Linked DNA regions of Homo sapiens: all the other regions are linked to region 3. The links are contacts of gene promoters, found by promoter capture Hi-C in blood cells and fetal thymus (Javierre and others, 2016). All regions are on one chromosome and are shown on one strand. Each heading gives the region's core, a stretch centred on a gene start or on the middle of the fragment in contact. The rest is flanking DNA. Distances are from core to core; before and after follow the strand shown. Region 1 holds the start of BATF3 (basic leucine zipper ATF-like transcription factor 3). Region 2 overlaps DTL (denticleless E3 ubiquitin protein ligase adapter). Region 3 holds the start of NENF (neudesin neurotrophic factor). Region 4 overlaps INTS7 (integrator complex subunit 7). Region 5 overlaps NSL1 (NSL1 component of MIS12 kinetochore complex). Region 6 overlaps DTL (denticleless E3 ubiquitin protein ligase adapter).

Region 1 (4,332 bases), core at 49-2,548, 270 kb after region 3:
CATACAGTATGCCCTCAAGAAGTTACCTGCCTTTGTTGAAGTTGCTACTTTAAAAAAAAATGTATTCTGCATAGTGCTTCTCATGCCTCTTTGCTCTCTGTAATCAAAAAGTCACTAGCACAAGAAAGCAGCCTGCATACTGCCCTCGGGGAGCTGACTCTAAACTGGACTCATCACCATGATCACACCTGCCAACCCAGCAGAAACATTTAATCAAGACAGAAAGAGGTGAGCGAAAGTTAGAGATAGTATTATGTTATTAACCATATCTGATTCAGTCTCAAAAATCCTGAGAGGTTGATGTTACTATATTCATTTTACAGATGGGGAAATGGACGGTCCGAGAGGTTAAACAAATTGCTCAAGGCTGCTCAGCCTGTGTGTGGCAAAGCCCAGGCCCAAACTCAGATCTCTGTGACACTCCAGCGACACCTGATGACATGGGCCGGGCGCTGAATTGGGAAGGTGGGGAGTAAGGATGAAAAGACCCAGTCTTCGTCGTAAGGCAGGTGGCCAAGACCCAGGCAAAGTTTCCAGACGGCCGTCCCTGTGGCCAACCTGGTCTCCTTCCTGACTGCGCCGCTGTAAACGTTGCTAGGGGACAGCGAACTGGGAAGGGGCAAAGGGTTTCCACCAGCTGGGGGCGGAGTCGGCCCTTTGTGGGTTCCCTCCGCCCAGGCTGACTAGTCCGGCGTTCTCCATTCCCGCGGCAGCACCCCCCCCACCCGGGGGAATCCTGGAGGGGCTACAGGCGCGGGTGGTGGGGTGGCAGTCGCTGGCTGCGCCAGGATGGGGCGGCCCTCAGGGCAGTGCGGAGCCCACGTGCCGGGGAGCACCGGCCATGCCCGGCCCAGCCAGGCGTCGGCGCCCTCGGGCTTCTTCCCCCAGAGGGCGCAGGAGCTGGCTCAGGAGCCATTCCAGGAGCCGCGGACACTGTGCGCACGACAGGGTCCCTGGATCGCCCCCATTCCCCAACATCCCTACGCCCCTACCTCTGCTTGTCTCCGGCCGCACCCGCCACCTCTGCACCTCCGCAGTCACCACCACGGAACTCCAGCACCCACCTCCTCGCCCCCCGCGGCGCGCCGGTCCCCGCACCCCACGGCCCTCCCTGAGCCTCTCGCCCTCTACCTGCTGCTGCGGCTGCGGCTGCGGCTGGTTCCCGGGCGCCGCGACGCTCCTCTGCAGGACGCTGCCGGCGGCCGGGAGCCCTTGCGACATGCCGGGCGCTCCTCTGGCCCGGCCCGCCCCGCCCCGCCCGCGCGCCCTGCCCGTGGGGCTGCCTACGGGCGCTGTCCCGCCGCCGGCATCCTCGTGCCGCACCCACGGCCTCGCGCCGGCCCCGCCCCCTCAGGCTTCCCGCTCTCCCCGCTACTCCACGCGTCGGCCCAGTGTCCCCGCGCGCCAGTCCCGGCAGCCGTCCTTCCCGTCCCACGTCTGCCCCGCCCTCCTTCTCCCACCCCCGCCTCGTTTCCTCCTCTGCCCGCCCTCTCTCCGCACCTCGGGGTCCCAAATCCCACCCCTGCCGCGGCTTTCCGCCGGCGCCCCGCGCTTCGTGGAAGTCACGTGGTGGCTCTGAAACCCCGGAGGGAACGCGAAGCCCACCCACGCGAGGCGACGCCCGGGGGGGTGGGGACCAGGGGGGCGCCATGCAGCCTTTGGGGTCCTTCGGCGGCTGCCGGGGAACTCAGGTTGAGAAACACAGTGGGTGTTTTGGGGTCGGTGTTTTTTCCCGGTCCCATCGCGGCATCTTCCTGCGCCTCAGCCACGCCCTGCGTCCGCCCCCCGGCGCGGGGGTCACAGTCCCGGGGGACTTTCTCCGCGGCGATCAGTCATCCGGGCGCCACTCTCGCTCCTCCAGCGGCCCCGAAGCCGCGGCTCTGGGGTGAAGACGCCGGCTTCACCGAGTCCCACCGCGCACCCCGAGCCACGGGCGCCCCAGGGACTCTGCAGGGAGTGCCTGCCCTTCCCGTCTCGGGTCCGCCGGGCTGTGGGAGGGAACGAGGCGGGGCGGCCCCGAGGGTGAATTCCCGGAGCGGAGGGTGGGCATGGGGAGGATGTCCCGGACAAAAACGGTGACGGGCTTCCCTGAGAGCGAATCTGCCACGTGGGACGTCACTAGTGACAGGTTTGGGGATCTGGACCCGCCATGCCACGGTTAAACGGCCCAGATCATTTTTCTTTTTCAAGATTTATCTGCTCGTGCCAAGCTGGGGACCGGGTTGAGGTAGGGCAAGTCCCTGTCCACCTGCCTGCCAGTCAAAAGATGCGAAGCCAAGACAATTACCCGTGGTCCTAGCGAAGGAAACACTAGCGGCCACAGGCTGTGGTCTGCATGCTGTGAGCACCGGGAAAGATAACCGCGATTCGGGATGGGCGGGTGGGAACCAGACCAGAAGGGCAGAAGTGCCTACCAAGTGTGGTCGCTTGGGTCTTCAGGTTTGTGGGCAGCAGTGGGCATGGGGACAGTCATTTCCGATTCCTTTTTAAGTCTTAAATGAGTGCACGTGCCCCCCGCCAGGATTTAAGACCCACTCTTGCAAAAGCTTTGAGAGAGCTTGAGTGAACTTGGCTGCCTGGAGGCCAGCGGGAAAGCGAGCGGAGATTCTTGTCTGTGTGATCAGAAGCTTCGGCCAACTGAGAGGCGGGGAGGAAGACGGAGGGTGGACGCAGCCCTTTAGAGTTGCAGCGCCACACTCCACAGCAGCAAGGCTGCGCAGCAGAGCCAGCGCTACGCTGGGTTATCTGCCCGGATTAATCTTTTCCTCTCCGTTATTTCATCACTCAGCTTAACTGGTGGTTGCCCCAGGACTATTTTGCATCCCACAAGGTACCCACACAAGGTGCCTAGCATAGCACGCTACATACACTCAACAGGTGCTCAGTATATGTATTGCACTAGGTCAGCTGAAAGCTCTCATTCCTGAAGCACTAAAAGGGCTCTAACGAGCTAGGAAAACATCTGGGTCAAGGGGTTATCATTTTCAGAAGTGATTTCATTCCCCAGTGTTTTTTATGCACAGAAAAGGCAAGGTAGAAACACCTCGGGAACATTCCCGTGCACTCCTACACTTTATTCTGGTCATGCCCACTTTTCTCACTGAACCACATCACATTTTAAGTCCTTTGGGGCTGCTGCTTCCCTGTCTCTCCCCAGGGAGCCTGAAACCATGTCCCAGCACACACGAACTCTTTATATAGGCATAGTCTACTGTCTTGTGTTACGCAAGGGTTTCTTCAAATACATTTAGTCTTGGTTAACTAGGTAGCATTTAGGGCAGAGATCAATTTGATGTAAAGATCATACATCAAAATGAATGGATTAAATAGCTAGATACAGAAATGAAAATCAGAGAGCTAAAGCAGAATTAAATTCTTATTTAAGTCATGGAAGCATAGGCAACATAGTGAGACCCCCAACTCTACCAAAAATTAAAAGAAATCAACTAGCTGAGTGTGGTGGTGCACACCTGTAGTCCCAGCTACTCAGGACGCTGAGGCAGGAGGATCACTTAAGCTCAGGAGTTTGAGGCTGCAATGAGCTATGATTGCACCACTGCACTCCAGCCTCCAGGGCAACAGAGCAAGACCTTATCTCAAATAAATAAAATAAAGTTGTGGAGATAAGATAAGGAAAGGATCTTATAAGAATACATGTAATAGGAGAAATTGACTTGATAAGATCTGAACTATATAAAAGGGCTAAATTGTTTTAGATGACAGTATAACCAGGAATGTAAAACAAACAGATTGGATAAATACAGTGCATATGAGAAAGGGTTAATATACAGCCCACGAAAAAGAAGAAGAAGAATATTGAGACAACCCGCAAAGGTAAATTGCAGAAGGGATATGAAATGGCATTTCCCAGCAGAAGAAATAATCAAGGAAAATAGGTATAGGAAAATATATATTAAAATAAGAACCCTTTTTAAGTTAGCAAAATAAAAAGTAATATCAAATGCTGGGGAGAGTATGGTGAAATTGGTACTCACATGTTTCACTGGCTTCATTGTAAATTGGCACAAACCTGCTGGAAAGCAGTTTTACTGTCACTTTCAAGAACCATAAAAGAGTCATCACTTTTGACTCAATTTTCCTACTGCTAGAAAATCATCCTAGAAACATCATTGAAAATACTAGGGAGAAAAATACTATATGCACTAGAAGTTCATAATAACATTTTAAGAGTGAAAAATGTAAGCAACATAAATGTCCGATTATAGTTGAATGGCTAAACAGAATATGTTATTGCCACAGGATAGAATGTTATGCATCTTTAAAATTACAAGCATGCAGGCTGGATGCAGTGGCTCTCACCTGTAGTCCCAG
Region 2 (4,430 bases), core at 790-3,289, 340 kb before region 3:
GAAATCCATTTGATCATGGTAGATTATCTTTTTGATATACTGTTGGATTTGGTTAGCTAGTATTTTGTTGAGGATTTTTGCATCTATGTTCATCAGGGATATTGGTCTGTAGTTTTCTTTTTTGTCATGTCCTTTCCTGGTTTTGGTATTAGAGTGATACTGGCTTCATAGGATGATTTAGGGAGTATTCCCTCTTTCTCTTTTGGAATGGTTTCAGTAAGATTGGTACCAGTTCTTCTTTGAATGTCTGATAGAATTCAGCAGTGAATCCATCTGGTCCTGGACTTTTTCTTCTTGGCAATTTTTTTATTACCATTTCAATCTAAGTGCTTGTTATTGGTCTGTTCAGAGTTCTTATTTCTTCCTGGTTTAATCTAGGAGGTTGTATATTTCCAGGAATTTATCCATCTCCTCTAGGTTTTCTAGTTTGTGAGCACAAATGTGTTCATAGTAGCCTTGAATGATCTTTTGTATTTCTGTGGTATTCGTTGTTAATATTTCCTGTTTCATTTCTAATTGAACTTATTTGGATCTTCTCTCTTCTTTTCTTGGTTAATCTCACTAATGGGCTATCAATTTTGTTTATCTTTTCAAAGAACCAGCTTTTTGTTTCATTTATCTTTTGTATTTTGTTGTTGTTGTTTCATTTTTATTAAGTTCTACTCTGGTCTTTGTTATATCTTTCCTCCTCCTGGGTTTGGGTTTGGTTTGTTCTTATTTCTCTAGTTCTTGAGGTGTGACCTTAGATTGTCAATTTGTGCTCTTTCAGACTTTTTGATGTAGGCACTTAATGCTGTGAACTTTCCTCTTAGCACTGCTTTTGCTGTATCTTAGAGGTTTTGTTAGGTTGTGTCACTTTTTTCATTCAGTTCAAAGAATTTTTTTAATTTCCAGCTTGATTTTGATTTCATTATTGACCCAAAGATCATTCAGGAGCGGATTATTTAATGTTGCATGGTTCTAAGAATTCCCTTTGGAGTTGACTTCCAATTTTATTCCACTATGGTCTGAGAGAGTACTTGATATAATTTTGATTTTCTTAAATTTATTGAGACTTGTTTTGTGGCCTATCATATGGTCTCTATCTTGGAGAATGTTCCATGAATGTTCTGATGAATAGAATGTATATTCTGCAGTTGTTGGGTAGAATGTTCTGTAAATACCTGTTAAGTCCATTTGTTCTAGGGTATAAGTCCATTGTTTCTATGTTGACTTACTGTATTGAAGTCCCCCACTATGAGATGAGATTCTATTTTTGTGTATTTCAAGGTTTTGCTCTAAGATTTAGAACTCCTTTTAGCAGTTTTTGTAAACTATGCTGGCTTGGTAGTGGCAAATTCTCTCAGCGTTTGAAAAAGACTTTCATCTTTTCTTCATTTATGAAGCTTAGTTTCACTGGATACAAAATTCTTGGCTGATAATTATTTTGTCAGCTAATAATTATTTAATAAGGCTAAAGATAAGACCTTTATCCCCTCTAGCTTGTAGAGTATCTGCTGTTAATCTGATAGGTTTTTCCTTTACAGGTTACCTGATGCTTTTGCCTCCCAGCTCTTAAGATTTTTTCCTTCATCTTGACTTTAGATAGCCTGATGACTGTGTGTCTAGGTGATGATCTTTTTGTGATGAATTTCCTGGGTGTTCTTTGAGCTTCTTGTATTTGGATGTCTAGATCTCGAGCAAGGCCAGAGAAGTTTTTATTCTTTTGCCTTTGTCTTTGTTGAATTGGGTTAATTCAAGAGCCTTGTCTTTGAGCTCCAAAATTCTTTCTTCTACTTGTTTGGTTCTATTGTTAAAACTTTCCAGTGTATTTTGCATTTCTCTAAATGTGTCTTTCATTTCCAGAAGTCATGATTGTTTTTTATTTATGATATCTATTTCTCTGGAGATTTTTTTCGTCTACATCCTGTTTTGTTTTATTTTTAAATTTAAGTTGGTTTTCATCTTTCTCTGGTGCTTCCTTGAGTAGCTTAATAATTGACCTTCTAAATTCTTTTCTGGCAATTCAAAGATTTATTATTGGTTTGGATCCATTGCTGGTAAGCTAGTATAATCTTTTAGGGGTGGTTATAGAACCTTGTTTTGTCATATTACCTGAATTGTTTTTCTGGTTCCTTCTCGTTTGGGTGGACTATGTCAGAAGAAAGATCTGGGACTCAATGTGTGCTGTTTAAATTCTTTTGTCCCACAGAGTGATCCCTTGGTGTGGTGCTCTCCCCCTTCCCTAGGGGTGGGGCTTTCTGAGAGCTGGACTGCAGTGATTGTTATTGCTCTTCTGGGTCGAGCCACCCAGCAGAGCTACTGGGTTCTAGGCTGGTACTGGAGAGTGTCTGCTAAGAGTCCTGTGATGTGATCTGTCTTCAGGTCTGTATGCCATGGATACTAGCACCTGCTCTAATGGAGGTGGTAGGAAAGGAGTGAAGTGGACTGTGTGAGAGTACTTGGTTGTAGTTTTATTTAGTGTACTGGTTGTCTTGAATGCTAGTTATACTAGCACTGAAGTTATTACATGGACAGACTCAGGACCTCTCTGGTTGGCCAAGATGTTACAGGCAGTAGAATTAGCTGTTATTTTCTGCTTTCTTGGAGCAGGGTTGTTCTGTTGAATTGCTGTAATGGCTTGAATTGGTTGGCCTCCAGCCAGGAGGTGGCACTTTCAAGAGAGTATCAACTGCAGTAGTATAGCGGGGGATATAAGCTTGCCTTACGGTTTCCTGGATAGGTTTTCGGGCTTCTCAGGCAATGAGCAGGGCCCCACGAGTTTTTGTCTTTTGTTTACGGCTACCAGGGCGGTTAGAGAAAGACCATCTGGTGGGGGCAGGGATAGTGTGTCTGAGCTCAGACTCCTTGGGCAGGGCTTGCTGTGGCCTCTGGGCGATGGGAGTGGTGGTTAACAGGCCAATGGAGTTACGTTCTAAGGGAGATTATGGCTGCCTCTGCTGCTTCATACACATCACCAGGGAAATAGGGGAAAGCCGGCAGTGACAGACCACAGCCAGCAAGGCCAGTCTCACTCCTGCAGTGCTTCCCCAACAGCCAACAGAACCAAATTTATATCCATGCCTCCAGTGCACAGGGTGGAGATCTTGCCCTAGACTACAAAACTCCCCGCCGAGAAAGCAAGCAGGGCTGTTAGGCCTTGTCCATCTGCCTGCCACAGCTTCTGTGCTCATATCTGCACTTCCTATTTGTCCCATCCCCCTGCAGATTCTGCCCAGGAAAATTCACGCTCAGTTGAAATCATTACAAAGTTCAGCTGAAAGTCTCCTTCTCCCTATGGTCCTTCCCCAATTCCATTGGCTGCCCTCTCCAAAGACCCCTGTGAGATAGTCAGAAATGGTTTCCCTGGGGACCAGGAGTGCCTACAGGGCTCTTCCTGCTGCTGCTTCTACTTTTATATTTTGTTTGGCTCTCTAAATTCATTTCAGTTCTCCTTCTCCCATGATCTGGATCCTCAGTGAGGATGTGTGCAGAAGTGGACTTTACCCCTCTCACACTGTTTTTTGTTTGTTTGTTTGTTTGTTTGTTTGTTTTGAAACGGAGTCTCGCTGTCAGGCAGGCTGGAGTGCAGTGCATGCGATCTTGGCTCACTGCAACTTCCACCTCCCAGGTTCAAGCAACTCTTCTGCCTCAGCCTCCTGAGTAGCTGGGACTACAGGTGCACACCACCATGCCTGGCTAATTTTTGTATTTTTAGTAGAGACAGGGTTTCACCATGTTGGCCAGGCTAGTGTTGAACTCCTGACCTCAAGTGATCCACCCACCTCGGCCTCCCATAGTGCTGGGATTACAGGCATGAGCCACCACACCCAGCCACCCTCTCACACTTTGGACCTTGAGAGCTTGTTTGGAGGTTCTAGCAGGGGAGCACATTTACTCGTATACCCTTGACTGAAGACCGATTCTCCTCTTATCAGGAATGGTTGTCCTCTTCGACCAAGCACACAGCTTCGGGAGCCCTCTCACACTTTGGGCACTCAATTTTTCTGCTGTCTTGTGGATTTTGCAGCAGCAAGCCACTTCTTTCAAAGGATCTGTTAATTCTTTTGTTTTTTCTGGTATGTTCCTGTGATAGTTCTTGGAGCCAAAGTTCACTATGTGAGTCTCCACATGCTGTTCTGTCTGTCTGAGTGGCAAATTAGTCCTGCCTCCTATCTGCCACTTTCCCCTTAAATCAGTCTCATTTTTGTAAAGAAAAAAGTTGAGATGTATAGTATGTATCACATGCACAAATATAGAAAGTATGCTAAACATGGTTTACGTAAGTGCTTTAAATTTTTTCTCTTTATGTTTTTCGGTATTTTGTCGATTTTTACAAGTATATATTTTATAATGGGATAGTTGGGAGGTTGGTGACTTGGAAAAGAGAAAGGAAAATGATAAAAGGGTGTGGTTGGAATCAAGTGATGTATACCTACTTACTGGCAAAT
Region 3 (4,755 bases), core at 2,112-4,611:
GTGCCCCTATGCTTTGAAAGACAATAGCAGTGATTACTACACTGAAACCTGTAACATGGAATGGTTACTACCCCAACACTATAATTGCACCCTTCTTGTAACTAGCCAAACGTGGATGGGATGGCAAAATGAGTCTTTATGGCTAGGTGCTTGTACTTCTCCTTGGGGTTGATTATGGGCATGTGGGTCACATGGCTGGCCATATGTGCCTTATAATTGGACTGGAAGATGTACATAGGGTCATCTTCATCTCCCAGGATGTATCCTCACTAAATTATAATCTCTCCCATCTAACTGGGAAACTGTAAAAGCTCGTCATAAGTGACAAAAGCAGTCTTCTTGGTTGTTTTACCCATTGGCTATCTGTCACATGTGTCCGTATAGAAGACCACCTAAACAGGCTTTGTGTGAGCAACAGGGCTGTTTATTCACTTGGGTGCAAGTGGGCTGAGTACGAAAAGAGAGTCAGCGAAGGTAGATAGGAGAGGGGCAGCTTTATAGGACTGAGGTAGGCAGTGGAATGTTACAGTTAGAGGTGGTTATCTATTGTCAGCAGAGGAGGGGGTCACAGGGTCCATGGTGGGGAGATCATAAGATTCATTGTCCAGAAGAAGAATGTCACAAGGTCGATTGATCAGTTGGGGCAGGACAGGAACAATTCATAATGGTGGAACGTCGTAAGGCTGGTCAATCAGTCAAGGCAGGAGCTTCTTTTGTTGCACTTCTTTTGTGTTTTTTTGGCTGCTCCAGACTTCTTGGCTCCTGCAGGCCATCTGGACTTATAGGTGCAGGTCACAAGGGTTACAATGGCTGAGCTTCAGCTCAGAGGCCTGACACTGTCTTCTCCCCACAGGCAGCCACAATTGACATTGAGCTTCAAGCCAAAGCCATAGCTAAACACAGCTGCAGTTTTCAATAATACACGCCATGCCCTTACCCTCTTGACTGAAGAAACATCTCAAATTAGACAGATAGCCTTATGAAACTATGGCTCTGGACATGTTAACAGCAGCTCAAAGGGGGAACTTATGCTATAATCAAAACAGAATGTTATGCATACATTCCAGACTATTCACATAATGTTACTCAGGCCACAAAAGACTTAGACACCCACATCTCTGCCATTGACACGCTGTCAGTTGACCCCATATCAGCTTGGTTCTAACAACTGCCTAGTCCTTGGGAAACTTTTTTTGTTTAGCATGCTTGGGATAATTCTATTCATTCTGTTTTGTGCTGTGGAATATACTGCATTGTACTTTTTATGTAGGAATAAGAGTTAAGCTTATTCAATGCTTCTTTAAATTTAACACGTTAATTTTCTAGATTTCACCTTTTTCTGGGACTTAGAATTATGTATGATTGGTCCTCACTATACAGATGCTTTCTGACTGGCTAGCTCTCTACTTTGGGCAAAGGGATCCTAATGGTTAGGCAGGAATATCATCGCTTCTGTTCAGCTTGAAGTTACTGAAGATGGATCTCTGTCCCCCTGCACCCCTTAGGATTAAAGGTCTCCTTGTAAAAAGGAGGAGGGAATTATGTCAGAAGTGTCCTAACCAGAGTGATTCCATCTTGAATAAAGGTCAGATAAAGCCAAACCTGCTGGGCGACTTTCCCAGGAAGATAGGCACTCTTCACAAGATGTTTATGGTTGAGGAAATGAGATAATGGAAAAAGGCATTCTTAGTTTAAAAATGAGTTTCACTTTAAAGATAACAGTACACCCATAAATTCTCCCTGAAGTCAATAGTTACACAAGAGAATAACAATACTAATAGTCTGTAACAAGCTGATCATAGGCTTTTGTAATGAAGTACGCTAGTTTTAGCCCTATAAAAGCAAGCATTACATTGAAGGCAGAGGTGCTCCTATATAAACAATACTTGCTTAGTACTACTTCAAAGCAAGGATACTACTCAGAAACACAGTAGTACTATTATTAGAAATGGAGTAGTTTCTAATGAACTATTTTAACTACTATGCTCTGCGACTTGCCCTGATTCTTTGCCGTGGACGTCTAAGAACCTGCTCTTGGGTCTGGAATGAGACCCTTTTTCTGTTAATTCCTCTATTCCAGTCTTGAAAGTAAAAGCCAGTCTTGAAAATAACCTGTGAAGCCCCCAAGATCCACCCCCACTCCCTTACCCGCTTCCTTCCTGACTTCACCTACCCCTCTTACCTTCCCTTGATCCTCCAGCAAGCCGGGCATCCTCATTCCTCCGCATTTATGCACCTGATCCTTTGACCAAAGTGCTCTTCCCTCTAGACCGCCTCCTTCGCCTCCTGTAGATTTTTATGCAAATACCCTGTTCTCAGTGAGGCCTTCCCTAACCTGCCTATTTAAAATGACCATCCCCATAACCGGGCACCGTTCCTCACACCTGTAATCCCAGCACTTTGGGTGGATGAGGTGGATGGTTCACTTGAGGCCAGGAGTTCGAGACCAGCCTGGCCAGCATATAGTGAAACCTCATCTCGACTAAAAATTAAAAAAAAAAAAAATTAGCCAGGCGTGGTGGTGGGTGCCTGTAATCCCAACTACTCTGGTGGCTGAGGCAGGAGAATCACTTGAACCCGGAAGGTGGAGGTTGCAGTGGGCCGAGATGGCGCCACTGCACTCCAGCGTAGGCGACAGACTCCGTCTCAAAAATAAATAAATACATAACAATAAAATAAAATAAAATGTCCATCCCAGTGCTCCCTATCTCTTTGCCCTACTTTTTCTCCCTAGTATTTACCACCATCTAACATACTACTTAGCATCTTATTGTCTATCTGCCCACACAATGTAAGCTTCACGTGGGCGTGGATCTGTCTTGTTCAGTGGTGAGTCCCCAGTGACCTGGTACATGGAGGTACTCAAAAATATTTGTTGCATAAAGTAATGAGCAAAGTTTGGCACAAATGTTAGCTATTATTATTTCAGGGCGTATCGGTAACAGCACCCTACCCTTTGCAAAAATCTCCTTGGGAACCAGAAACTTAAACACAACCAGGAAGAAAAAAAATCAGCCAAAAATAAAAGCGAATTAAGACAGTTGGGGTCTTATTTTAGAAATATACCTTTCTAGGTTCTGGTATGTTGGGCTCTGTCATCTTTCTACCTGATCAAGGAACCACTGTGACATTTTTTGGTAACTTCCAGTCTGTAGTTTGGATTTAGGAGTTCAGGATTCCAATCCTAATTTCCAGGTTCCAGCTGCGTGGCCCGAGTAGCCCGGCCAGCCCCACCCCGGGGCGCAGGAGGCGCGCGAAGGGCGGGAGTTCTCGGGTCCCCGCCCTCGGGGAGGCTCTGGGCGCGGGGCGGGACTCCGGGACGCTGGGCGGGCGTGCTAGGGCCCCGCCGCCCTGGCCCGGCCTTGCCTTGCGCTGCGCGCTCACCATGGTGGGCCCCGCGCCGCGGCGGCGGCTGCGGCCGCTGGCAGCGCTGGCCCTGGTCCTGGCGCTGGCCCCGGGGCTGCCCACAGCCCGGGCCGGGCAGACACCGCGCCCTGCCGAGCGGGGGCCCCCAGTGCGGCTTTTCACCGAGGAGGAGCTGGCCCGCTATGGCGGGGAGGAGGTAGGCGGGGGTGTCGCGGGCCGAGGGACCCGGGGTGGCGTCCGATCTGCGGCGAGCCGAGCGGGGACCCAGGAGGCGCCGGCGGCCCAGGAAGCTCTGGGGGACGCGCGGCCCGCGGCGGGCGCCCTGGGCCGGCGGGGGGCCTCCTCTCTCTAGGCCCCGAAGGATGGCCGAGGGGTGAGGACGAGTCCTCAACAGTCGGAGCGCTCCGCTTTGCCCGCACACCCCACCCTGAACTTCTCCCTCGGTCCCCGGGAGATTTCCCCTCTAGCCGCCTTTTCGTTGATGATCTGCGTACAGACCTCAGAACTTTTTGGTTTTCATGTTAGCATCAGCCGAGGCGTTTACTGTGCCCACGCATAGTGGGGAGTGGCGGGGGACGGAGGGAGGGAAGCAGAGCCTGCTCCCTGGGTTAGGTGGGAATTGAGACAGGTCCTGGGATAAGCCAGTCTTTGCCTGCACTTCCTTTTCCTGCCCCTGTATCCCAGGCCTCTGCATCGGACTCCTCAAACCCACTTTTAGGTCATGTACCCCTGGGGCTCAGCCAAAGCTGGAAGTGAGCGCAGAGGGTGGACTGGAGGTTAGAGACCCCCACAACCCCCCCGCCACACGTCAATAGAGACCCCCCCGCCCACACACACCCACACACGTCAATAGTCTAGAGGCGTCCAGAAAACTCACAACCACCTGCCCACCTGGGTTGGTTGGGACTGGAGCCGCACGACAAGGACCAACAGGGGGCTGATATTAGATGTGGAGCGGGGGAACGGCATTGGGGGGAGGTCATAGTACCATAGTATTTCAGAGCTGGCAGGAACCCATCTCCTGCTTTTACACATAAGGAAACTGAGGCCTGCCACCTGTTAGTGGTAGAGCAGGAAGAGGCCTGATGTTTTTCAAAACCCTCTGGCCTGGTCTCGCTAATTCCTGAGTTAATTGGCCTTATATGGACTAGGATTGCATGGGGGTATCAGAAACCTGGCCCTTAGTCAGTGATGCCAGTTTGGGCATCATTTGTGAAGGGGCCATTTAGAACCATGAGTCAGTGAGGACACCGAGGGAGGGAGACATGGCTGGGATGTGAGGATGTTAAGGGATGCCTTTTTGCCGGTAGCAGAGGGAACCAGATGGTTCAGAGTCCAGGCATCCGTGCAGAAAAGAATTAACATGGCAGGCCTGCTCTCCTTAGAAAA
Region 4 (4,635 bases), core at 1,585-4,084, 420 kb before region 3:
ACCTGGGAGATGGAGGTTGCTGTGACCCGAGATTGCGCCACTGTACTCCAGCCTGGATGACAAGAGCAAAACTCCATCTCAAAAAAAAAAAAAAAAAAAAAAAAGCTGAAGAGGAGGGTATGCAAATACTATTTTTTAAATTTTAAAAAAATTTATCCTCTCCCTCCCCCTCCCCCTCCCCCTCTCCCCACGGTCTCCCTCTGATGCCGAGCGGAGGCTGGACTGTGCTGCCGCCATCTCGGCTCACTGCAACCTCCCTGCCTGATTCTCCTGCCTCAGCCTGCCAAGTGCCTGGGATTGCAGGTGCGCCGCCACGCCTGACTGGTTTTTGTATTTTTTGGTGGAGACGGGGTTTCGCCGTGTTGGCCGGGCTGGTCTCCAGCTCCTGACCGCGAGTGATCTGCCCGCCTGGGCCTCCCGAGGTGCCGGGATTGCAGACGGAGTCTCGCTCACTCAGTGCTCAATCTTGCCCAGGCTGGAGTGCAGTGGTGTGATCTCCGCTCGCTATAACCTCCACCTCCCAGCCGCCTGCCTTGGCCTCCCAAAGTGCAGCCTGTGCCCGGCCGCCACCCCGTCTGGGAAGTGAGGAGCGTCTCTAACCGGCCACCCCATCTGAGAAGTGAGGAGCCCTTCCGCCTGGCAGCCGCCCCATCTGGGAGGTGAGGAGCGCCTCCGCCCGGCAGCCGCCCCATCCGGGAGGTGGGGGGCGGCCCCCGCCCGGGCAGCCGCCCCGTCCGGGAGGGAGGTGGGGGGCAGCCCCTGCCCGGGAAGTGTGGGAAGTGAGGAGCCCCTCTGCCCAGCCGCCACCCCGTCTGGGAGGTGTACCCAACAGCTCATTGAGAACAGGCCATGACGACGATGGGGGTTTTGTCGAATAGAAAAGGGGGAAATGTGGGGAAAAGAAAGAAAGATCAGATTGTTACTGTGTCTGTGTAGAAAGAAGTAGACATAGGAGACTCCATTTTGTTCTGTACTAAGAAAAATTCTTCTGCCTTGGGATGCTGTTAATCTATAACCTTACCCCCAACCCCCTGCTCTCTGAAACATGTGCTATGTCCACTCAGGGTTAAATGGATTAAGGGCGGTGCAAGATGTGTTTTGTTAAACAGATGCTTGAAGGCAGCATACTCGTTAAGAGTCATCACCACTCCCTAATCTCAAGTACCCAGGGACACAAACACTGAGGAAGGCCGCAGGGTCCTCTGCCTAGGAAAACCACAGACCCTTGTTCACATGTTTATCTGCTGACCTTCCCTCCACTATTGTCCTATGACCCTGCCAAATCCCTCTCTCCGAGAAACACCCAAGAATGATCAATAAATACTAAAAAAAAAAAAAAAAAAAAAAAAAAAAAAAAAGTTAACTTTTCAGGATTCAAAAAATTTATTATTCACCTGGTTATAAAACTGGAACTTGCTCATGCCAAGATATAGAGATATAGAGAAATTTATAAAAAGAAAATAAAAATTATATACCATCTTACCAAGATTTTGATATATATCCTTCTAGTCTTTTTTTCTATTGCATAAATACAAATATTACGGCTTTTATTTTTTTTAAACAAATCTGTTACATTATATAAGCTATTGGGGTTTTTTAAAACAAACCTGTTATATTACATAACCTATTATGTAACCTGCTTCCAAATATGTTTCTAAAAACATTGGTTTTAAGTTGTTACCGTATTCTATTGTATGATCATAATTTATCTAAGCTCAATGGAAGAAATTTAGGTTGCTTCTCATTTCTTTTGTTGTTACAAGTAACACTACAACCAGCATCCATACAAATAATTATCAGTACATATTGCTGTTATCTTAGGATAAATTCTAGAAGTGAATTTCCTGGGTCAAAGGGATGTACTTGTTTAAGGCTTTTCATACATATTACCAAAATGCACCCCAGAAGGCAATGCTACTTTTCCTGTCAGTCAGGGAGATACTGTATTTTCTTTTACAGAAGAGAAGCCAATCAAACATAGTAATAAAACCATGGTCAACATTTAATCCTCCTGCCCAAAACAAAATACTGTTCTGTAAAACAACAGTGTAGGACATGACATTCTGAATAGGTTAAAATTGGTTTTAATTCAAGTTATTGTCTTTGCCAAACTGTGGACAGCTCTAATGCAAAACAAATTAACATTAGAAGACAGTAAGTAAGCAATTTAGTATTACAGATCTATATGTCTGGGAGAAGCTCCTCAGTCAACAAAGCTTCTGCTACCCAATGAAGCCTTCTCCAACTAATCTATGCTGATCCTGTCCTTCTGGAAACTCATTTCATTTACACAATTAATGCCAACATTTGTACTTACATTTTCCATTTTATGAATTTAAGTCTTGTTTCCCCAACATAAGGTAAACCTTCTTGGAAAACACACCTTGTAATTTACACTTTCCTGTATCTCTCAGTGTTTATATAAGTTGATCAGTTTTTCCTTCAAAAATTTTTCTTGGGAAGCCAAATTACTAAAAGGGATGTACTTTTGTAAGCTTACTTTGACTGTGCAGAGAAGTTTGCAGCAGCAAAAACAGCAGCTTCAACTTCTACATTATCATGTGAATCTAAACTCTGACGAATACTATGATGAGCATTCTTCCTCTCAGGAATTATTGATGCCAGACTTCCCAACATCCTACAGAAACAGAGAAACCCAAGAAGATCGGGCATAAAATAAAGTCAAGGTCAGAAAAGTAAGAGGCAAGGCAAAGTCAGATTATCAAAACTAAAGTTTATAGGTAATTCTATGTAACTCCAGTTAATAAAGCATAACTTTAGAAATCCATGACTCAAATTTTAAACGCTTTTACATATTTCAATATGTCAGAAAAATTAAAATGGCTTATCTAAAAAGCAAAATTTTTAACAATCACCTTGAAGTACCTCCCAGGTACCAAACAGCCCAGGAAGGAAACTTCTGAATTATTAAAGCATCAAAATATCAATTTTCCAATGTTGCATAAAGAAGTCCATTTCAGCAAAGCATTAAGAATACAACATTTTTGCTGTTAAGCAGATACACAAAGTAAAAAAAAGTAAGAGCTCCCAATCTTTTTTTCCCACATCAGTAAATATTGGTATGATGATTTTCAAATGTCCTCAAGATCAAGAAAGCAGTGGTTGAGGACGCCCCTGGGGCTCACACCAGAATCAACAACGGTGCAGAAGGTAAAGCTTGGAAAACACAGTCTACTTTATAATAAAATCATACATTTAGAAAGGAAAAAAATCTATTGTTTGTGGTATAAACTACAGAAAGTAGTTTGAAAAATCCTTTCAGCAGAAAGGCATACATTTTAGAAATTTGCAAAACACTGCAGTAAACAAAACCTACAATGTTCCTACAATGACAACCTTCTTCAAAGTCAACATCCTAAATAACCTTCCAATGTGACATGTAATCACCTAATTATTCCCTGTAATTACACTCAAAGTAGTACTGTTCCTAGTACTGTTAAAAATAAGTAATACTGTTAGTAGCAAGAAACTAAAATGGACTAAATATGTAATTTATATTTAATTTGAAGGTTTTGGAATTATACATCTTTCAAAAGAAATAACAAATGACTATTAATCTATTATACCAGAAAAGATTAGACTAGGCTAATACTGACACATTTAATGACTTATTCCCACTGCTTCCGGCTTAATTTTTCTCTTCCTACTTGAGTACCTCCTTCTAGAATGTTTACAAAACAGGTCCTATATGGCAAACCTCCTAAGGCCTTGTGTGCCTGAGAATCTTTTTATTTTACTACTCTTTTAAATGAAAACTGGATTAGATATAAAATTCTTGGCTCAATTTTCCTTTAATACTTATTGCATCAAGTGTTACTGTAGAAAAATCTGATTTCAATCTAATTTTTTTTTCCTTTAAAGTGATCCTTCTTTTTGGAAGCTTTCTAGAGATCGCTGGCTTTATTGATAACCACAGTGCTTAAAAAAAGAATTGAGGCAAAAGTCAATTGCCATGACTTAGAGAAGGGCAAGCATGGAAAATGATTAACATTCAAATATTAATCTACATTCTTATCAAAATATTCAGGCTAGCTCTAAATTATTTATGAAATTCATTCCACCAGTTAAATTCTATTCTTTTCTATTATCTTTTGATTAAAAAAAAAAAACCATGTTTGTGAAAACCAATTCAAACATTACCAAAAAAAGCCAAATGGAAAAGCCTCTTGTAATCTACAACCCAAAGACTCTACCAAAAATAATCACTGTTAACAGTATATATTCCTCTAGATTTTTTTCTGAGCCTATATAAACATATATATTAATATCAACTAGCAAAATGAGTTAACAAAATGGATACTATTTGACTACTTTTTAAAACAATATCTTTCTATGTCAGTATATATAGACTCACAACTCACTTTACTCTTTAAAAGTTATACAGTAGTTCACCAATAGCTATTCCCATGTCGATTTTTCCCCAATTTTTCATTCTACAAAAATGATACTATAATCATCTATATACATATATTCACCAACTTTTAAAAATGATTCATTTAAAAAATTCCTATAGGTATATTTGCTGAAGTAAAGGGTAAAAATACCTTAAATTTAAATTCTGGGACAGGTGCAGTGGCTCACGCCTGTAATCCCAACAATATGGGAGGCCGAAGC
Region 5 (4,518 bases), core at 1,419-3,918, 350 kb after region 3:
AAAAGAAAAGCTTCTTTTTCCATCCTTGTCTCAGAATCATAAAGTCATTGTCAGTCTTCCATCACCAATTTCAATTTTAACCACTCACTATAACTTTCATTTTTTTCATTTTTGAACCAGTGTGTTCAAAACACAGTATAGTATGACTATACTATGTCATAGTACAACTTAGAAGAGTAAAGTCTTACAAGAGACAAACAATACTAATTGAGGCAGGAAAGAAAAAGACAACAAAATGTCACTTATCTCCACGTAGAGCCTTATATTTTAATGTTTTTATTGTGGTAAAATATACTATAACATTTTAAAGGCAAATCATCTTACCAGAATTTCTTGTTTTGCTTTTATGGTTTTGATGACACATTCCAGGATCTTTCTGGGATACTGCTTACGTTTTGTGGCTATATCTACTATGATTTCATCAAACTGATCTTCAAGTACTTTGATGTCAGAATCTATTTGAGAAAAAAAAATGTATATATAAAAAGTTCCCTAAAACTCATTGTTTACATTCTGTATGGAAATGTGCTATAAACTAAATTTAGAAAACACAAAATAATGAAGGAAAACAAATATGGCAAGTTAATGAATGCCCCCACTTTGGTGATTAATTTATTTACGCATTGAACAATCAATTATTGAGCATCTATAAGAAGCCAGGCCTAAACAAGAGAAATACAAAGATGAGCACAACATGATTCCTACTCTCTAAGAGTTCACAGTTTGCTGAAAGAAACAGACAATTGCAAGGCAACCTGATAAGTGCAATAGAGGTATGAGCAAAATGCCATCAGGACACAGAACAATGGAAAACTGACTGACTGTGAAATATAAGACTTTAAAGAAGTAACATTTGAGCTTGAAATAGAAGTATAAGTCCAATGGATAAAAAGTGGTACGGGAAAAAAGGAATAGGGAGAAGCATTTTAGGCAGTGGAAACAGTATTTGCAAGATCCTAGTCTTTGGAGACCTGAGAAAAGTTCTAAATGGCTACAGAATAAAGTAAAGGAGAAATGGATGATAAAATATATAAGAACCAGGCTGTAAAGGGTATTTAATATCAGGGATGCTAAGAAGTTTTGACTTATTATGAACTGACCCAAAGCTATGACAGTAGCAGTGAGTGGAGTAACTAGATCTGAAATAGGACTCAACTGGATTGATGGTAGGAAAAACTGAAAGATACAGTGAGTTTAGAGTTTCTTTCATTTAGCTAACTCTACTTTATCATATGCTTTTTCATGTTTTAAAACAGTGATTCTCAAATGTTAGAAGAATCACCTAACGAGTATGTTAGGAGTACAGATTTTTTTTTTAATACTTTAAGTTCTAGGGTACATGTACACAATGTGCAGGTGTGTTACATATGTATACATGTGCCATGTCGGTGTGCTGCACCCATTAACTCGTCATTTACATTAGATATATCTCCTAATGCTATCCCTCCCCACTCCCCCGACCCCACAACAGGCTCCAGTGTGTGATGTTCCCCAACCTGTTTCCAAGTGTTCCCATTGTTCAATTCCCACCTATGAGTGAGAACATGCGGTGTTTGGTTTTCAGGAGTACAGAATTTTGATTCAGTAAGTCTGAGATGGGGCCCAGAAATGAAGCACCCTAGATGAAAGGAATGTAGGTGATCCATCTAACTTTATTTTGAAAATCATTTTAAAGAGTAAAAATACTAAGTAGTTACAAATACTAAAGAGCTAAGTTCTTAGCTTAACTGGTCCTCATATTGCTCTGTTGTGTCAAAGTCTAAGCTAGAAATGGACCTATTTATTTTATTGATCAGAAGCTTTATTAGGAAGAAATCTAACATCTGAAACATAATTTTTGAAACATTTTGAGAAATTGCTGATATGTTTCGGTATATACATATCAGATAATCAAGTATATCAGGTATAGTCTTTCATTCATGTCACAAATATTAATTGAATCCCACTAAATTAGTTCTTTTGAGGGCACCCTTTTTTTCCTTTTTCTCTTTCTTTCCTTCCTTCTTTCTTTCCCTTTCCTTCCCATTCATTCTCCCTCCCTTCCTTTCCTTCTTTTCTTTCCTTTCCTCCCTCCTTCTTTCCTAGATAGATAGATAGAGAGAGAGACACACACAGATTGATTTTCAATAGCTTTTGGGGTACAAGTGGTATTTGGTTACATGGATGAATAGTACAGTGGTGAAGTCTGAGATTTTAGTGCACTCATCACCCAGTAGTATACATTGTGAAAGTACCCTTCTTTTGAGGGCAAGAAATAATAGTTATTTCTTACTTTGAATAATTATTTATATAAGCAGCCCTCCCTAAATTTTCATTTATCCATTAAAAAAGTTAAATAATTAGCCTGAAGAAAATAATGTACTATTTCACAATTAGTTAAAAAAAAAAAAAAGAAAAGTCTCCCAGGTAAATCTTTTTTGTAGAGAGGAACATGCTTTCTTAGCACTACCTAGTGATAAAGCTACAATTAAAATGTATCACAAAATTTGAACAGAAGCCAGGCACAGGCCTGTAATCCCAACACTTTGGGAGGCCAAGGCAGGCAGATCACCTGAGTTTGAGAGTTCGAGACCAGCCTGGCCAACATGGTAAAACCCCATCTCTGTTAAAAATACAAAAATGAGCCAGGCGTGGTGGCAAGCACCTGTGATTCCAGCTACTTGGGAGGCTGAGGCATGAGAACTGCTTGAACCTAGGAGGTGGAGGTTGCAGTGAGCTGAGATCGCGCCACTGCACTCCAGCCTAGGTAAGAGTGAAACTCTGTCTAAAAAGAAAGAAAAGAAAAATTGAACAGGAAAGAATTATTCATTAATTTAACATATTTCATAGGTGCCTACTATGAGCCAAGAGTTGAGAACAAGGTCAGGAGCAGTGGCTCACATATGTAATACCAGCACTTTAGGAGATTGAGGCTAGGAGTTTGAGACCAGCCTGGGCAACATGATGAAACCCTGTCCTCTACCAAAAATACAAGTTAGCCAGGCGTGGTGGCCACATGCCTGTAATCCCAGCAACTAGGGAGGCTGAGGCACAAGAATCACTTTAACCTGGGAGACAGAGGTTGCAGTGAACTGAGACTGTGTCATTGCACTCCAGCTTGGGTGACAGTGAGACTTCATCTCAAAAAAAAAAAAAAAATTGTCTTTTTAAGGAACCTTCTACAAAGATGTAACCTCATCCTTTACACGGTACTTGTATAATTAATAATAACTTCACACTTTTAAGGGTACTTCACTATTCACTCTAGAGATCACTTACAAAAATACAACTTGCTTTGTAAATAATTACAGAAATTCCCTGGGCCTCTTTTGTCATCTGGAGATAGCTCTACAGTATTTTCCAATAAACTATTGACAAAGAAGACTATTGAAGTCATAATCTCAGTTCTTTATTACTCCCCTAGTAAACAACTTCTTGAAAATAAATGACACTAAATATGGAGATTAAAAAACAGCATTCAAAACAAAATTAGCTGCAAAAATAACCCAGAAATTAATAATGGAAGGAAAAAGTCACATACCCATAAAACAATTATCTGAAGCTTCCTGCCATGCTTGCCCATTAATGCTGATATTCTCTTGCACAGCTGATTCAAAAGTCTGCAATAAATTCACAGTAGTCAAGTCACTAAAAATAATTTTAAATACTAAATTCAAACGTTTTAGCAAAATAATACTTCCAGATTTGTGACAGAGGAAATAAAAGTAGCAGAATAGCTAATTAGTATATCTATTCTTTTCAATGAAGATTCCACTTCAATCATTGATTCTACCTACATTTTGGGTCTCATAGCCATTATGCTACCCAAGAGAAAATCTGATTTAAAATTTTGGAATATTCTTATAAACAAACAAAAAAAAGTACTCCTAGAATGAAAGAAAAAATAAAATCTAACAAATTTAGGCTCAGTTGAATCTCAGGGGTATAAGTACTATATATGCTGCTGAATGACTGTTGATGTTAACAAGAGGGAAAACATACATGCTTAAAAATAAAATTATATTTTATAAAGGGCTGTATTTTTGAGAGATGAACACTTATGTAGCGATGAAATGACATGAGATCTAAGATATGCTTTAAAATAGCAAACGTAGGCCAGGTGCAGTGGCTCACGCCTATAATCCCATCACTTTGGGAAGCCAAGGCAAGAGGATTGCTTGAGGCCAGTTCCAGACCAGCCTAGGCAACACACTGAGACAACCTTCTCTACTAAAAAATTTAAAAATTAGCCAGGCACAGTGGCACATGCCTGTAGTCCCGGCTACTTGAAAGGCTGAGGCTAGAGGATTACTTGAGCCCAGTGGTTTGAGAATACAGTGAGCTATGATTGCCACTGTACTCCAGCCTGGGAGACAGAGGGAGAAGCAACTGTAACAAAATTTTGACAACTGTTGAGTTTGGTGGTGGATATATGGGTGTCCACTGTACTAAACTAATTTTTTGTAAGGTTGAAAATGTTCATAATACATTAAAAGATAAAGAACCAAAAAACAAAAAACAAAAACAAACAAAAAATAG
Region 6 (4,748 bases), core at 628-3,127, 350 kb before region 3:
TTTTTGAATTATTCAGTTAATTATGTTATCTTTTTTTCAATTGTCATATATTATCCTTACCCCTATGCATCTCAAACATCATATATTAATTATCCTTATTTCCTGTGCTCAAAGGAAATAGCAGGGCTGTTTACCTATACTAATTTATTGGCTACTTTTTTAAGTCTTAAAAATAATTTCATCCCAAGCCTAGAATTAGGAAAGTAAAATATGGTTTGTGTTGTTTTTGTGTTTTTAATGTCTGGCATTTGGAATAGGAGAAAGCTGGGTTTAAATTCTAGCTCTTCCATTTGATTGTGGTTACTTTGGGCAAATAACTTTATTCCCATTTTGCATATGAGATTATTTGAGTACAAAGCTTTTAGAGTGTGAGAATTAAATAAGATAAAGAATGTAAACTACCAGACACATAGTAGGTGCTCTGCAAATAACTATTGTTAATAAACTATAGAAGAACTGTGAGATTCCAAACATTTCATATTGAACAGTTAAATATGTGTATCTTCTTTTGGCCTCCCAGTAAGGAAAGGAAAAAGCTGCCAGTCTCTTGGGGGCCAAGACTTAAGAGAACATGTATTCTTTTTTTCTTTCTCTTTAGTGACTGAAATAGAGAAATTATATAAACAAATGCTGGGGAACAGCTCTGGTACCAGTGGCCATTTGCCACAAGCTCTTCAAGCTGGACTTTCTCTGCCATAAAAGGCTTGGGACCAAGATCTAGAATAGTCAGATATTTTTAAAGGGACAAAGGTTATTTTTTAACTTCTTTCAGCCTAGGGAACTTGTTGTTTTCCCAGATTGCTCCTCTACCTATCTGAAAAAGAATCTCAAAAGGAATGGTTTCCTTCTACTTGTCACAGCCTACTAGAGTCATGGGCCAAGTCTGATCTTGCAAATGGTGCCATTACTTTAGCAATGTGGCACAACATGCAGAATTCAGAAGAAAGTTGTAGAAATTGAATGTTGGTAACATATACTGATTGATCATTTAACAGAAGAGTAAAAAGAGTGTCTTAACTACATATTTTGTATTTATACAGAAGATGATAAAGAGCCAGAACTTTAGATTAGATAAGAAATGACCAGTAACAAAAGACATACTAGTAGAATGTATATGAAGAATAAACTAAAGAGTCAGCTTTGTTGGAAATCTGGAATGATTCCTGAAAGCAAGAAATGGATGTACATGATCTTTAAGATATTATTTTCTATATCCTGTTTATTAGACAAAATAATTATCCAGTCACAAGGCCTTAAGACACACCTGTTTTTTAATGTATTTTGAATCTTGATTGAAATTTCTTAATTCCCTTCTTGGTACTCCCTCTTAGATTGCTACCTGTTCTGATGACAATACACTAAAAATCTGGCGCTTGAATAGAGGCTTAGAGGAGAAACCAGGAGGTGATAAACTTTCCACGGTGGGTTGGGCCTCTCAGAAGAAAAAAGAGTCAAGACCTGGCCTAGGTAAGGATATCATATACTTTCCAAGTTTTTTATGGTTTGACTAGTTTAGTCCGACAGTACAGAGTAATAAGCTAGATTTGATCTTGCTTTGGTATGTTTTTAAAGAAAAGCACTATCTTCTTGCCATTCATTCTTTTTGATAAGTATTTCCCAAGCACTACTATGTTTATCATTTACACAAGGTACTACAGTGGTGGATTTATTCAACAAATATTTCTTGAACACCCAGTATGTGCTGGGCCCTGTTCTTAGTTGCTAGGGATTCAGCAATGAACAAAAGAATAAAAAATCCTGAAGATGTAAATAGAGCTAACATATTAGTGTGAGAGGCAATAAACAAGATAAAAAAGTAAAATATATACTGTGTCAAATAACAATAAGGGCTTAGGAATAAAGGAAATAGGAAAGGGAGAAGGGCAAGGGTGAAATATGCTATCAAAATTTTATATTAGGTGACCAGGGGGGCCTCAATGAAAAGATGGCATTTGAGTAAAGAAAGTGAAGTAGTAAGCCATATAGATATTTTAAAGAAGAATATTCCAGGCAGATAAAAGTACACAGGCCCTAAAGCAGGAGCATGCTTGGCATATTTTCTCTTCCTCAGAGAGGCTAGCATGGCTGGCCCCTAGGGCTGCAGCAGGCAAAGGAAAGGGAGGGAATAGTAGTAGAAAATGAAATTCTGTGAGACTTTGGCTTTTATTTTGATAGACAAAAGTCCACCAGAGGGTTTGGAGCAGAAGAGTATCATAATTTGACTTTTAACTTGATCATTCTTGCTCCTGTGTTGAGGATAAATTGTAAGGGGGTCAGGGTAAAAGCAAAAAGCTACTTTTAAAAAGCCATTGAGATAATCCAGGAAGTGATGATGGTGACTTAGACCAGAGTAGTAGCAGAAGCTATGGTGAGAAGTCATCCAATTTTGGATATATTTACAAGACAGAGCCAACAGAATATGTTGAGGGATCAGATGTGGGGCTATATGGGAGAGTTATCAAGGATAACTTCAGAGATTTTGCTTAAGAAGCTGAAAAGATGGAGTGTCATTAACCTAGATAAATATCCCTGCAGGAAGAGCAAGTTTGGGAGGGAACAGCTGGAGTTCCATTTGGACATGTTGTTTGATATGATTATTAAACACCCAAATGGACATGTCAGGGAGGCATTTCGATGTTTAATTCTGCAGTTCAGGGTTGAAGTTGCAGATGTGAGGTTCATTATCACACAGGGTGAAGATAGCTATAGATAGAAAAAAATAGGCCTGGTGTCTTGGGGTACCCCGATGTTTAGAGGTTGAGGAGGTGACAAATACCATTAAAGCCTACTGAGCAGCCACAACCAGAGAAGTAAGAGAAAAACTGGGAGAGTGTTACATCCTGGAAGCCAAGTAAATAAGAGGAGAGAGGGATGAACTTGATTTGATGTTTCTGGTATACCAAATAAGGTGAGGCCTAAAAACTGACCAATGGATTAGGCAATCATAGGGGTTATTTGGTGACCTTAATGAGTGTTGTTTTGGTGGTATGATGGTGGCCTGATTGGTGTCATTCATGTATATGACTTGGGGACTACAAGTATAGACAGTTCTTTCAAGGAGTTTTGTTATAAAGGAAAGAAGAGAAGTGAAGTGGTAGCTGGAGAAAGAAGCAGGGTTGAAGTTTGCTGGGGTTTTTTTAAATAGGAATATAACATTTCACAGTGATTGGCAGGATCGTATAGAGAGGGGGAGATTGATGCAGGGGAATTTGCTGGAGCAATGTTAAGCATGAGGGGATACTATCTGATACACAGTAGGAGGGTAGGCCTTTGCCAGGAACATGGATAGTTGACCCATAGTAATTGGAGAAAAGGTGGAATATATAAGCATGGTGCAGGTAGGCTACTGAGAGATGGTGGGGAGAGAGGTGGAGAGATGAGATGGCCATAACTTACAGAAGCTTCCTTCTGTTCTGATGTTAAAACATGAATCAGGGTTATTAACTGCGAATGAGGATAAGGGAGAAAGGGAGTAGAGATTTTAGAAGAGATAAGAAAGTCTGAAATTGTCACTGAGAGAATAGAGGAATAAATGGACAGGAAAATATGATTGTTGGGCTTCAAGAGTCAACTTGAGGCTAGCAATAATTAATTGAAAGTGAGCACTCCACATGGTTGTGTGTTTGCTATGCAAGTACAAGTATACTATAGGTAGAGAGCTAGATTTAACCAGGGATGTGGTTTAGCAATGCAAGTGAAGAAGGAAGTTGACAGTGGATGCAAAGAGGATGATTATGACTATAAGATATAACCTTGGTAAGGAGGCATATTAGTCCATTTTCACACTGCTGATAAAGACATGTACAAGACTTGGCAATTTACAAAAGAAAGAGGTTTAATGACTTACAGTTCCACATGACTGGAAAGGCCTCACAATCATGGCAGAAGGCAAGGAGGAGCAAGTCACATTTTACATGGATGGCGGCAGGCAAAGAGAGAGATTGGGCAGAGAAACTCCCCCTTATAATATTGTCAGATCTCATGAGACTTATTTGCTGTCACGAGAACAGCATGGGAAAGACCTGCCCCCATTATTCAATTACCTCCCACCAGGTCCCTCCCACAACACATGGGAATTCAAGATGAGATTCAGGTGGGGACACAGCCAAACCATATCAGGAGGGAAGTAAGGACATAATGGGGCCAAGGGATAGTGTAAATGTGGTACTAGCAGTGGATTGAGGATAAAAGATTGTTGGAATTGAAATACTAAAGGGAGATGGGAAAATAAGTGGTGATGAGTGGGATGATTGAAATTAAGATAATGGAAGATTTCCAGGTATTGGTAATAATAAGGTAAAGAATAAGTGGCTTAGGAGAGTGAAAGGACAAGATTATAGAAGAAGGAGGTCAAAAAACTGAGAAACCAAGGTATTGGAAAGATCATGTACATAGATTTTTTAATCACCATAAATTGACAGATAATGTTGAAGAGAGTAACAATGAACCAAGAGCAAAAATCTTCAAGCAATGAGCCACCCACAGTGTGGATCCTCAGGGTATCATTAGATGTGCTGTATACTTGTACTTACATGGTAAACACACAACCTTGTGGAATGCTCACTTTCAATTAATTACTGCTAGCCTCAAGTTGACTCTTACTGGCCAACAATCATATTTCCCTGTCCATTTACTCTTATATTCTCTCAGTGACTGTTTCAAACTGTCTTATCTTTAAGCTTGAGTTTTAAGCTTAAAGATTCATTTTACTTCAGCCATCAAGGCCTAAGGTTAATGGGGAATTGAAG

The links. The method cuts DNA at HindIII sites, captures the fragments that hold promoters and counts their contacts. A CHiCAGO score of 5 or more calls a contact.
Region 1: a contact is called between the fragment with the promoter of BATF3 here and the fragment with the promoter of NENF in region 3, in 5 of 17 cell types (M1 macrophages, M2 macrophages, M0 macrophages and 2 more). The highest score is 8.8, in M1 macrophages.
Region 2: a fragment that was not itself captured here is called in contact with the fragment with the promoter of NENF in region 3 in 1 of 17 cell types (naive B cells); the score reaches 5.9 in naive B cells.
Region 4: a contact is called between a fragment that was not itself captured here and the fragment with the promoter of NENF in region 3, in 7 of 17 cell types (fetal thymus, total CD4 T cells, naive CD4 T cells and 4 more). The highest score is 7.6, in fetal thymus.
Region 5: a fragment that was not itself captured here is called in contact with the fragment with the promoter of NENF in region 3 in 1 of 17 cell types (M2 macrophages); the score reaches 5.2 in M2 macrophages.
Region 6: a fragment that was not itself captured here is called in contact with the fragment with the promoter of NENF in region 3 in 2 of 17 cell types (naive CD8 T cells and activated CD4 T cells); the score reaches 6.5 in naive CD8 T cells.

The regions. Positions count from the first base shown.
Region 1 is chr1:212,698,542-212,702,873 of GRCh38, forward strand. BATF3 (basic leucine zipper ATF-like transcription factor 3) reads right to left here and starts at 1,299. Exons shown (of 3, transcript NM_018664.3): 1 at 1,132-1,299. The coding sequence starts at 1,221. RefSeq lists silencers at 597-1,046, 1,237-1,316. The HindIII fragment of the contact is 2,939 bases long and covers 1-2,544 here.
Region 2 is chr1:212,095,719-212,100,148 of GRCh38, forward strand. All of the region lies in intron 13 of DTL (denticleless E3 ubiquitin protein ligase adapter), which reads left to right. It also overlaps the pseudogene RN7SKP98. Among named protein-coding and RNA genes, the nearest start is that of MIR3122, 20 kb to the left of the region's middle. The HindIII fragment of the contact is 1,313 bases long and covers 1,384-2,696 here.
Region 3 is chr1:212,429,559-212,434,313 of GRCh38, forward strand. NENF (neudesin neurotrophic factor) reads left to right here and starts at 3,362. Exons shown (of 4, transcript NM_013349.5): 1 at 3,362-3,562. The coding sequence starts at 3,386. LOC105372906 (a long non-coding RNA gene) reads right to left here and starts at 3,259. Exons shown (of 3, transcript XR_922577.4): 1 at 3,067-3,259; 2 at 2,183-2,286; 3 at 403-773. RefSeq lists a cis regulatory region at 1,437-1,724, a silencer at 3,148-3,707 and an enhancer at 3,868-3,957. The HindIII fragment of the contact is 20,197 bases long and covers 2,795-4,755 here.
Region 4 is chr1:212,014,386-212,019,020 of GRCh38, forward strand. It overlaps INTS7 (integrator complex subunit 7), which reads right to left. Exons shown (of 20, transcript NM_015434.4): 4 at 2,501-2,638. Among named protein-coding and RNA genes, the nearest start is that of INTS7, 19 kb to the right of the region's middle. The HindIII fragment of the contact is 682 bases long and covers 2,494-3,175 here.
Region 5 is chr1:212,784,039-212,788,556 of GRCh38, forward strand. NSL1 (NSL1 component of MIS12 kinetochore complex) reads right to left here. Exons shown (of 6, transcript NM_015471.4): 2 at 3,521-3,599; 3 at 325-455. Among named protein-coding and RNA genes, the nearest start is that of NSL1, 5.5 kb to the right of the region's middle. The HindIII fragment of the contact is 1,742 bases long and covers 1,798-3,539 here.
Region 6 is chr1:212,079,284-212,084,031 of GRCh38, forward strand. It overlaps DTL (denticleless E3 ubiquitin protein ligase adapter), which reads left to right. Exons shown (of 15, transcript NM_016448.4): 13 at 1,332-1,467. Among named protein-coding and RNA genes, the nearest start is that of MIR3122, 4.0 kb to the left of the region's middle. RefSeq lists an enhancer at 2,926-3,095 and a cis regulatory region at 3,011. The HindIII fragment of the contact is 3,043 bases long and covers 357-3,399 here.